Regions from separate parts of the Homo sapiens genome. Here region 2 is linked to region 1. The links are contacts of gene promoters, found by promoter capture Hi-C in human tissues and cell types (Jung and others, 2019). All regions are on one chromosome and are shown on one strand. The core of a region is centred on a gene start or on the middle of the fragment in contact, and the rest is flanking DNA. Distances in the headings are between cores, read along the strand shown. Region 1 holds the start of LILRA2 (leukocyte immunoglobulin like receptor A2). Region 2 holds the start of LOC105372460 (a long non-coding RNA gene).

Region 1 (5,957 bases), core at 44-2,543:
AGACTCAGGGAGACTCAGGGAACTCCAAGCAATTCTGTGAATTTCTCACCTGGGACCAGGAGCTCCAGGAGATCACTGGGTAGAGACCACACATAGGGAGAGTTCGAGTCATAAGCATAGCACCTGTACGACCACCTGCGACTCGGGCTCACGGGGCCCACGGAGAAGATGGCCCAGGACCACCCACGGGCATGGGAATGGGAGTTCAGGCGTTGTGGGTGTTCATCTTCTCCTTCCTTACACAGAATGAAGCCGTCAAATGCCACCTGTGAGACACACTGGAGGGTCACGTTCCCTCCTGAGGTCACCACAGGGCTGGGCAGAGCTGAGAGGGTGGGTTTGCTGTAGGCTCCTAGGAGAGAAGGAGGCACTGTGTTAAATGGGGCTCCCACCTCCCACATCATCCCCAGGGTTGAGCTGTGAGAGCGGAGATGCCCCTGAGAGCCGACCCCCTTCCTGAGGGCAGAGCCTGGGGCTGGGACTCCTGAGTGTCCTCTCACCTGTCACCACCAGCTCCAGGGGGTCACTGTACTCTGATGAGTGATTGTGGCTGTAGTACTGACAGTGATACCGCCCTGCGTGTTCCCAGGTGATGGATGGGATGGGGAACTGGCCATTCTTCCCAGGCTCTTGTATCCGTCTAACCCAGGATGCTGATTTGTTTTCCCTATATAGATGGTACTCCTCAGCCTGAAGGCTCCCCTGACACCTGAGGGTCACAGGACTTCCCTGGATGATCACAGAGCCTGGCTCAGCCCAGAGGGTGGGCTTGGGGAGGTGCCCTGGAAGGAAATCAGAGGTCGGATTCTAAGTCATTTCCCACCCAACAGATCTCAGCTCTCAGCTGCAGGACCCTCCAGACACCCCCATCAGTCAGCCCAGAACTGCTATTCCCCATCCCCAGCTGCACGGGGGTGGCCCCTTGTCCCTAGTGAGGAGGAGGGACCTGGGACAGCTGGGAACAGACTCACCTGCCTGCACGTGGGTCCTGGGGCCCAGACTCAGCCCTGGAAGAGAGTTCCCTGTGAGGGATTTTTCCCCTGAAGCCTGGGCAGGTCCTCCCCTCCCTGGGATCTTTGTGAGCCCCTGGGGTCTCCTTAGGGACCAGAGTTTGGCTGTGGGGTGAGGTCCCTCCTAGGTTAGAAGCTCCCCTCCCTCTTCAAATCTCACCGAGACAGATCAGGACCGTGAGGATGGGGGTCATGGCGTCTCCTCCCACTGCCCTGCTCTGCGGATGGATGAGCCCTCAGTGCTGGCAGGACAGAGAGACGCACAGGGTGTGGACACTCGGAGGCTGGATCCTTCTTGTCATGGGGTTTTGTTATGTGCAACCACACAGGAAGTGCAACTGCCCTCTCAGGAGCCTGGCTGTCATACCTTTAGGGCTGAGGTGGGGGCAGGCACCAGGCCCTCTGCAGACATTTCAGACTGTAATGGGGTCTTTCCTGCCCCCCAGCCACTGTCTGTCTGGTTTATCCTCATCTCCTTGAGACCTGGGATGTAGCAGCAAATAGAACTGGTGCCCTCCTGCGTCTGCCCTTCCAGATGAGGGTGAGCAGAGGCTTCCTCTTCCTTCTCAGAGCTTCCCCATGGGGTCTCCCTCCCTCCTTCAGCCCGTCCATCAGCTCAGCGTTGCGGGGTCCTTACCATGGCGGTCGTCCCTCCAGCCCTGGAGATGCTTCAGGGAAAACCCAGGTCCATGCTGCAGTTAGACTCAGATCAGCAGAGACGCACCTGACACCTGGCTGTGTAGCTCAGGTTGAGCTGCGTGTGGCAGTGAGCACAGAGGAGTAATGCAGGGTCTACCATGGTGGCTCATGCCTGGAATCCCAGCACTTCAGGAGGCTGAGGTGGGTGAAGGCTAGAGGCCAGGAGCTTCAGATTACCCTGGGCCACATAGCAAGACCTTGTCTGTATAAAAAAAGCAAAAAATTAGCCAGGCATGGCAGCTCACATCTCTAGTCCCAGCTACTCAGGAGGCTGAGGTGGGAGGAATACTTCGGCCTGGGAGGCGGAGGCTGCAGGGAGCTATGATCACCCCTTAGCATTCCAGCCTCAGTGACAGAGTGAGACCCTGTCTCAAAAGGGGAAATGCAGGGATTAACTATAATAAAACATATTTGTTCTGTCTTGAGAGTGTGTGTTTCCTTCCTACCAAACCGTCCCTCTCCTGTACTTCCCCTTTTCTCTTTGTTGCAACATCACCCACCCCCACCCCGGGAATGAGGCTCTGAGTCGGTCCCGCCCCCTCAGTGTCCCTTGCGTCCTTGGCCTTCCCTCGGCACCTCCGTCCATGTTCAGAGTTTTCAGAAGAATTTGTTAGGTCTGTAATCTGATTCTGGGGAAGGTGAGCTGATTTGTATTTAATTCCTGATTATCATCCAGGGTTTATGTGACTTTGGACATGAATGTCACCTCTGAGCCTGCTGTCGTGAACCCCACTCATCACAGTGGCTGTGGGGGTCAGTGGTGCCCAGGACATGGGAGGCTCAGCCATGGTGAATTTCCAGACCAGTTCAGACAGGAGGGTGGGGACGGGAGAGGATCCTGGTGCTGGGCTCCACAGTCCAGGAGGATGATTGACGCCCCCACTCAAGAGCCCACATCGGCTCCAAATACCATGAAATTCTCCTTGTGATACATCTGAAATATGCAGATCATCACAGCCACGGGCACAGAAAGAGGAAGAACAGTTCCTCACATTGAGACGCATCCCCTTCCATGAGCAGAGTTCAATGCTGAGTGGCCACAGGTGTCTGGGACCACCCAGGGTCATTAGGGAGGAGGAGGCTCCCACCTCCGTGTGGGACAGAAGAGGAACCCCACGTCCTCCCAGGCAGGGAGGGGTCAGGGCTCTGGGTGACGCTGGAAGCTGTGGCTCCCCCTCCCCTGTGTGTGTGGACAGGCGCTGGGGGGTCTCTGCTCACTCACTGGAGGCCATGGTCAGTGCTCAGCCCCTCCCCTGTGTGTGAGAAACAGATTCAATCCACGGTGGTCTGACATGGGCGTCTGCTCTGCCCCACAGGTGAGTGTGAGACTGGCGTTGGTCCCATCCCTGCTGGGCACAATCTTGAGCTGACACTGAGTTTGGGGGAGTGGGGAGGAGCAGCGGCAACAATCCCCTTCATCAGGCTGATGCCTGGACAGCCGTGGGAGAAACCCTTTATGAAAGGTCAGGTGCGTGGGAGGAGCCGCCCCACAGGAATGACAACCAAGATACATGAGGAAAACACAGACAGTTGTTGAAATGCATTAGACAGACATTGTGAAGGTGAATTAATTTTTATATTAATTTATATATTATATAAAAGAGTCCCAAGCCCTTCTCAGCCTTTTCCCCTGCTATCATTGCTACCGAAACTTTGGGGCTTCTGTCTCCACCCTCAGGTGCCCCCCTCTTCCTGTCACAGAAGTTTTCTTCCTGGACATCAGCAGCTGGGCTGGACCCGGGGAAGGACATGGGAGTGTGAGGGCCAGTGAGGAGGTTGTGGGGGTAGGTGGGCGTCTGGGGTCTTCGGGCAGAATTACCTCCTCCACAGGCCTCTGTCGTTCTCTGACTCCACAGTCCCCACAGGACTTTGGAAATCAGCCTCCCTCTGGGCTGGGTGAAGAGGGACAGAGCTTCAGCCTTGGGATCATGAGAGCCACCTGCCCTGCACAGAGAACTCAAGAGAAAAGAAGGAAAGCTGAAAACACACTTGCATAGATGTTTTAAAAACGTCGTTAGATGAAACAACCAAAAGAATAAGGTATGTTCATGTATGTTCACATTTATTCTCTTCTTTCTAGGTTTTCTCACTGGGAAATGCTGGAGCCGTTTTTCTGAGCTGAACTTTCCCATCTGGAATCTGTCTGGTTGGTGGTGCCCTGACCCCACCTTCAGTCAGCCCATGGGTCTCCCCGCCAACTTCCTACTCACCCAATGTCCTGTGTTGGCCCTGAGGCCAGTGTCAGAGGAGAAAGAAGAGGAGGAAGAGCACCAGCTGAAGGCCACTGAGACCCCGATCACAACCCCCAGGTGCTTTCCCAGACCCTGAGGTAGGACTGTGAAGGTGTACTGATGCCCTTGCCAAATGAAAGGAAACTGTTCCTGATGGTTCTTATTAACAGTGATGGAGAAAAAAATATTTAACACATCAATGGCTGAATACTGGGTATCAGGGGATGTATTAATTTGCTCAAACTACAAAACCACATCTGTTACAACATCTTCAATTGGATCTGATTAAGCTTACAATAATCTAATATCATTATCCAAGATCCCTGCGTCTTCTGTGGAGGTAAAATAGGAGAGGTGAATGGCAAGGTTGTGGGAATCACTGTCTCTGCACGCTTCAAGTCCCAATATATGGAATTCCTCCAGGAATGCAAGACTGCTTTTGGTTTACAGTTTAGCTGGGAAGAGGCAGTTCTAGTGGCTCCCACTGGGCCCACTCTAATAACCCTCACTCAACAAGTGAGGGAACCACTGTGGGGGTTGTGATAGTTGTTGAATATGTCTATTCCAATGTTGCCCTCTGGAACTGGGGATACAGCCACAGGGTGGGTTTAGGGATACACTGGATTCACTATGGAACACGTGAGCTCAAACTCCACCAATCACCTTGCCTCTAGCAGCCACTACTCTGACTGGAGGGCCACAGTGACGTTTCGGGTCTCCTGGAATTAATGTCAGTTCATACCCCATTTCCAGTAATGCCCAAATTATCTGATTATTTTCCCCAAGGCTCCATTGCCATTGTAAAAGGCTGCAGGTCCCTTTAACCAAAGTCCAGGAGAAAGATTAAGAGTATATATTCTTGGTAGTGTACCAGGGACAGTGCCCTCACGGGAACCCTGCCTGGGATCCCTTTAATTCAGGGGATTCTGGCTCTATGAACTGACTCAGTGCTAGCCATTGATTGAGAGACTGTGGCTCTCTGCTTTTATGATTTGGGTTGACTTTTGTTCACTTGACATAGAAATTTTCTGCTTATACAGATCAAGTGAGAATTTAGTAGGTTTCCTATCTATCTCCCTTGTTAGAATGCCGTGATCAACTAGCCAACACCATAAGTCTGCGGGACTATTCCGATCGCTGGTTTGACTTTGCTGTCCATCATGGTAACCAAACCCACCTTGCCTTTGGTGGCTGAGTTCCTCTACTTGGCCCCTGTCTCTCTGGGGGCCAAGAGGTAGGGGCCAAATTACTCCCATTACATTTAGATTTTTTAAAATTCAGCAGTTCCACTGTAGGTTCCAGCTTCCAGAGAAGAGAAATCACAGAGCTCCTCAAGGATGCCAGAGCTCCCTTTGCAATATTGTTGAAAGATACATCTTCTGATGCTTCCAATGTGGGTTACTAGGTTTGATACATGCATGGTAACATTACAGTCTTCCTAAGCCTTTAAGTTAATTCCTCTGCAGCAAACCAAGGCATGTCTGGCATTTTGAGTTTATTTACTGCAGGCCAGCTTTTGCTCCATGTTTCAGCCAATCAACCAGACAAACTGGTAGAATCATTTCCGGTTCTCCAAGATGCAACATTAAATGTGCAATCTCTGTTTAGTGAGCTTATATATATAAATTCGGTCCGACTCAACTTTATGTTCTTTTCACCATTATCCTAAACCCTTAATATCCACTCTGACACGTGTTCCTCAGACTTCTGTATGGATAAATTAGAAAAATAAATAAATTACTTTGGAGTGTAGCACAACTTCTCATGAGCCACACTTTGTAACACACTTTTCAGGGCCTGCGAGACTTGAATCTAGTTATAGGTCTAGAAGCAAAGAGGGTTGGTCAGGATGTATCCTAAGGAGAATCAGCATAGCCTTGCATGGCAACTGCCTCAGGGGAGGCCAGTATTGTTTCCTCAGACAGTACAGGGTTAATCTCCTCCCTTGCAGATAGAGAGGATGCTTCTATTGGCAAAGAAGACTCATTCAAAGTTAGGGGCTTGATATCCTCAGCTG
Region 2 (6,091 bases), core at 585-3,084, 48 kb after region 1:
GTGCCTTGAAGATCTCGGGAGAGGACGGGTCTCTTGAGTTGGGTGAAGATCTCGCGATAGGAGGGAATCTCATGCTAGGGGTGCAGATTTCGCGAGAGGACGGGTCTCCTGCATGGGGTGATGATCTCGCGAGAGGACCTGTCTCCTACGTGGGGTGAAGATCTCGGGAGAGGCCGGATCTCCCGCGCGGGGCGAAGATCTCGGGAGAGGACGGGTCTCCTGCGCAGGGTGAAGATCTCACGAGAGGATGGGTCTCCTGTGTGGGGGGAAGAGCCACACACAGAGAAGCCCAGGACCCTGTGCATAGAGCAACAGCTTTCAGATGATGAGCTTTGGTTAGAATAGTTTCCTAAAATTTGAGTCTATGGGATATTTTGCAAGTTGTGGTTGACATCGATATCATCAGACAAGTGTCCTTCGCTGACAGTACCAAAAGCCCTCTAAGTAATGTGTGAAAAGCAATTTCCTTACTCTTCACTTGCAGATTAACGGAGGCATTCATCAATGCACAGAGGCAAAACCAGTGTCCTCAGAGTATCCAGACCCTGAAAGCTGAAAGAAGGAATGAAAAACCTGCCTCTGGAAGTGGCATTGGCAAGGTATGACCACAAGGAAAGCAGCATGAGATGCTCCTTCCCTGCTTCGACCATGCTGAGACCTGACTCATTGCTGGACTAGAGAAAATCAAGGTGGGTGTTGGAAGATGGGAACACTCTAGCGATTGCGAGTGAGTAGCTGCTTCCTTGGTCCTAGAAAGCTTAGGACTGTTTTTTTGTTTTTGTTTTTGTTTTTTTTTGAGACGGAGTCTCACTCTGTCCCCCAGGCTGGAGTGCAGTGGCGCGATCTCGGCTCACTGCAAGCTCCGCCTCCCGGGTTCACACCATTCTCCTGCCTCAGCCTTCTGAGTAGCTGGGACTACAGGCGCCCACCACCACGCCCGGCAAATTTGTGTGTGTGAGTGTGTGTGTGTGTATTTTTAGTAGAGACGGGGTTTCACAGTGTAGGACTCTTTGACATTCATGTTTCTCAGTGTTTCACCCAAATAACCCACGCTAAGGAGCAAGATCCAATATTCTCCATAGCAGAATAATTATTTTATCATAGGAATATTTACATTTGTTTTATGCCCTTATTTACATTCTCTGGATGAATACGAGAGATGTTAACAAAGAATCACTCCAGATCAAAACATCCATAATTGTATTGACCAGTATTAAACAGTGAAGAGAGAAAACACAATTCCTTGCCAAGATCAATTGATTGAGAGTCTTGTCTTCAGCTTTGGTTTCTCCAAGAATTTTCAGCACCTACCCTCCCAGAGTATCTTGTTTTCTCAACTGGACTGCTCATTTCTATCATTACTTTTGAAACAAGGTCCAAAAGGTGAACAAGATAAGAGCTACTTTCACGTAGGTCAGAGGGGTGAACGGCATCAGAGGCTTCAGAAAATCTGAGGCCGAGGGATGATAAAAGTCCAACTAAATATTTGCAATGACCTAACTAACTTAGTATCTGCCTCATGCACTTCCGTTTCTCGATTAAACCAATTACTTAAACATGAAAAATTAATGCAAAATAATGTCAAGGTTTTATTTGAAATGATTAATTAAAAACACACATCTTTAATGGGAATCTGAATGTTAGCAAGCACGGGTGAAAAGGCCTTTGTGTTGAAGCCAGCGTGGAATTCCTGAGCTGATCCATAGGAGGGCATATGCTCAGGTTACCCATCTGGGTGAATCAAGCTTCCTGTTGCTTTACGTTATTCTAGACACCCCATTCTCCCAATCCTCCAATACTTGTGAGCTCTCCATGCTGAAAACAGTGTGAAGGTCCTATTAGTTTGGACACAGGCTTCACCCTGTGTGTCTAGAATTCTTGATCCACATCCACCCATAGAATAAAGGGACCGTTTATATCTCTGCCATGAATAGATTTCCCTGCCTGCTTCAAACCTGTCGACACAACCCAAGGGCAAGCTTTTCATTTGCAGTGATTCAATTCTCACCTGAGAAGATCTGTGAAATTGAGGCTTTGCCCAGGAGAGGTGGCTGCTTCCAGCCCTGGCCCATTGAACCCAACGCATTATGTTCATCCTTCATTTTTCCTTCTGACTGCCTGGAATAGGGACAATGACAGTGACCATGACAGGGGATGTGGGTGATGACCTCCAAAGTCTATCTCCTATCATCAAAATTCTGGCCTCACTTCTGGAGCCTCTGGAGAGGTTGACAGGCTGGCACTTCCACATGCAAACCTTTCTGTGTGTCTCCTATCTGAGCTGAAGATTCCTCATCTCTGATTCCACCTTTCCTTCACGGCAGGGCTGGAATATGTGGTATTCTCATCTGTACATAAATAGACACAATGGTTTATAACCCTTACTCGAAGCATACGTTCATTCAGATACTTCACTCCAAGTTTTAGATAAATATTATTACTTTATAAATACCCACGTACACTCAGGACAGTATGTTGTCTTATTTACAGCAAAAGAAATGGATCCTTCACATTTCCCTCACCCCAGGACTTTTGCACGTGCTCTTCTCTCTATCTCAACTTCCATCCCTCTCCCCACACCTCATATCACTGTTGAGTGCAAATATCACCAGCTCCAAGATTTCTTTCCTTACCACCGTAGGCAAGTAGGCTTCTGTATTAGTTTTCATGGTTTAGTTTTAACATTTTCTTTCATAAAATTTATCATTGATGTCATTTATTTCTATTTCTCCACTTTTTCATTGTTTCTCCTCCAGTTCCCACCATGAAGACACTCTTTGTGTCTACAATATACCGTAATTGTACGAAGTGAGGAGCCCCGTACTTGGCACACATTTAGTGATTAGTAACTATACGGGGAATTACCGAATGACTCAATGAAGAATGAATAAATGAATGAATGAATGATTTGGGGCCAGGAAGTGTCTCACACCTGTAATGCCAGCACTTTGGGAGGCCAAGGTGGGCAGATCACTTGACATCACGTGTTTGAAACCAGCCTGGCCAAAACCAGCTGGTGAAACCCCATCTCTACTAAAAATACAAAAATTAGCTGGGCATGATGGCGCATGCCTGTAGTCCCAGCTGCTTGGGAGGCTGAGGCAGGAGAATCACTTGAACCCAGGAGGCAGAGGTTGCAGTGAGCCAAGATCTCACCATTGCATTCCAGCCTGGATGCCAAGAGTGAAACTCTCTCTCAAAAAAAAATTAAATTAAAAAAATACAAAAATTAGCCAGGTGTGGTGGTGCACACCTGTAGTCCCAGCTACTCGGGAGGCTGAGGCATGAGAATCACTTGAACCCAGGATGTGCAGGTTGCAGTGAGAGAAGATCGCTCCACAGATCTGGGTGACAGAGCAAGACTCTGTCTCAAAAAAAAAAAAAAGGTGGGGGGGATGTGGAAGGATTCTTTCCTAGAACCTACAGAGTGGGCATGGCCTCCTTGACACCTTACTTGCAAACTTCTACTTCCCAGGATTATAAGTGAATTGATTTTGTGGTGTTAAGCCACGCAGATTGCAGGACTTTGTTAGGACAGCCCCAGGAAGCTAACACAGGTGGCAAAGCATTGTGGTCACAAGACTGGGTTCTGACCTCTGCCAGCCTGGGCTCATTCCAGGATCTGCGGCCTGTTTGCTCCGTGACTCTCAGCCTGCTGCACAAGCTGTGAAGCTCAACCTCCTCATCCTGTAAGCGTGGGTGATATTAGTCACTTCCTAAGGAGGCTTATGTGAAGACGTCACTATTTATTCCATTTAAAACTTCATAAAACTGCATGCCACTTTGTTAAGTAAAGATAATCCAACACAATCAACATGCTATTTTCATTCATACACATTCATACACTCAGTTACCAAGTCTGAGTCCCTGCAGTGCAGTGAACGGACTAGGTATACACAGGGTCTGTGCAGGGACACAGTCCATGTCCAGTATGACGACTGAAGCAGAGAGTGGCGAAGTGGGCTTTGGAGGCCCCCAGATCTGCAACCATCACCTCCAGGGGCACTTTCTGTCTGATGCATCTGGAATACCTGGCGTGTGTTGGGTGCATGCAGCTCTGGGATCTCGAGGTGCCTGGTATATGCTGTGTGCAATCCCCCAATTGCTTATGTCTCTGTGCAGGGCTGGCTTCACTGTCCAGGAGCCGTGCCATCAGAGTTCCAAGCTGAGTTTAATGCCCTCGTGTTGACATCTTGATGTTTGAACATGGGGCCCTCTATTTTCATTTTGCATGGGGTCCAGTGGATTATATAGTCAATGCTGCAGGTATGATTTTGCTTTAGGATTTGTCAGGCTGATCTGAGTTTGTGATCTCTGTGTGCGTCTCACCTGGGCAAAATGGACAAGGAGGAAATCCCTGAGCCAGGAAACTGAGAGCAGAGCTGAATATCCCAGAATTCAAGGGGGAAAGCAGCAGGAGAGGTTGCTGGCTTGATATACGACAGATTTTAAGTGTGCATTTGAATACTGAATACATCATCAACTCTTCCCTCTGTGTCTGTCCATTTATAGTCCATCCATGCTTCCATCCATTCTGCCAGCATATGTCTATAAATGTCAACCTTATTTCATACAATTAACCAAGAATGAAAAATAAAGCATACGCTTCACTGACATGGATCCTGTCCTGTGAGCCCTGCTAGTCTAGGGGATGTGATAGATGTCTAGAAATAACTACAAAACAGGTAACTACGCACTATGACATTCGTATGTGGAATCATTCCTTGGCTGTGGGTGATTAGAAAATAGACTGGCATAGCTCTTCTGTTGCGGAAAGGGAGTCATGAGGAAGTGATGTTTGAGGACACAGGTGAGTGGTCAGGAGGAGGCACTGAGGACACAGGTGAGAGGTCAGGAGGAGGCACTGAAGACACAGGTGAGAGGTCAGGAGGATGCACTGAGGACACAGGTGAGAGGTCAGGAGGAGGCATTGAGGACACAGGTGAGAGGTCAGGAGGAGGCATTGTCTATGTTTGCGAATCTCTCTCAATATCTGTTTCACATTCTCTGTCACTGTCTAACTTGTTTTCTCTTTAACTATCACAAGTTCTCTGTTTCTCCCCCTTTCCTTCATCCCCTCCTCTGGCCCTCTAATAAGTTACTTGGTGTTTCTATGTTCTGGTATTTTTCTTCCTCTACTGGCGGTTTGATCAACAACCACATCACCCTGGGGAGTTTCCTGGGCACCAAAAGACCATGAATGGTCCAGCCACACTCACCTGTGATCACAATGTCCAGGGGGTCACTGGGAGCCGACCACTCATAGCAGGAGTGACTGAAACAGCCACAGCACCTATAGGCTTCTGCACGGGCAGGCGTTATAGGACCCATGGAAAAGACAGCCTTGAAGGAGTGATCCCCAGCCTGGATCATCCTACCATACTGCTGGGAATGTTGTGTGTGCCCCTCTTTGTATAAGATAAATTCATCAAAGGCCAGCTCTGAGTGACAGCGCAGGCTCACGCTGGCTCTTGCGTGCACCAGGGGGCTTGGGTGCGCTGAGATGCAGGGTTTTGTGAACAAGCCTGAGAGCAGAGACAGAGGAGTTCACATGAGTCTCCTTCCTCACCCCTCGCCTGAGACCTCAGGGTGAAGCTGTCCCTCGTCACCCCCAAAGCCCGTCTGCGTCCTTCCTGTTTGTGTGCGTGCATGTTCTCTCTGCGTGGATTCCCATTGTCTGGCTTGAAGCCATATGAAATGTGTGGTTCTCCTGGAAAATGGGAATTAGTCTGTGCTTTGAGAACTTTCAGAAAACACACTGTAGTGAGGAGGTAGAAATGAATCAGAGGTTTTGAAAGAGAAGAATGAAGAGAAGGTGCTGCTAATTATAGAACAAAGGAAGTCAGATGAAGGAAGTGTTTGGGAGGAACAAAACCACACACTCGGGCTTGGAGGGAGGCTCTGCTTTCTCTGAGGCCAGTTATCCATCTTATCAACACCTCCCCTGCCTGCTGCTTCTCCTGGGGTCATCCATCCCGAGACAGCCCCATCGGCTCCTCCAGTGAACCAAGGCAGAGACTGGAGCAACTCTCAGTTCCTCACGCTCTTCTGCTCCCCACACCGTGAACAAATCCAAACAGCTCTTTCCCCG

What was found. Contacts are between HindIII fragments. The study calls those that stand out against the background at their distance.
Region 2: a contact is called between a fragment that was not itself captured here and the fragment with the promoter of LILRA2 in region 1, in 2 of the 25 tissues and cell types used here (lymphoblastoid cells and spleen).

Annotation. Positions count from the first base shown.
Region 1 is chr19:54,569,126-54,575,082 of GRCh38, reverse strand. LILRA2 (leukocyte immunoglobulin like receptor A2) reads right to left here and starts at 1,293. Exons shown (of 8, transcript NM_001130917.3): 1 at 1,171-1,293; 2 at 972-1,007; 3 at 501-782; 4 at 50-352. The coding sequence starts at 1,204. It overlaps LOC107985347 (a long non-coding RNA gene), which reads left to right and starts at 2,255. Exons shown (of 2, transcript XR_002958419.2): 1 at 2,255-2,347; 2 at 3,790-5,692. LOC105372461 (a long non-coding RNA gene) reads right to left here. Exons shown (of 3, transcript XR_936073.3): 3 at 3,371-3,665. The HindIII fragment of the contact is 16,909 bases long and covers 1-5,957 here.
Region 2 is chr19:54,521,158-54,527,248 of GRCh38, reverse strand. It overlaps LOC105372460 (a long non-coding RNA gene), which reads left to right and starts at 139. Exons shown (of 4, transcript XR_001754038.3): 1 at 139-335; 2 at 485-689. The HindIII fragment of the contact is 4,451 bases long and covers 1-4,059 here.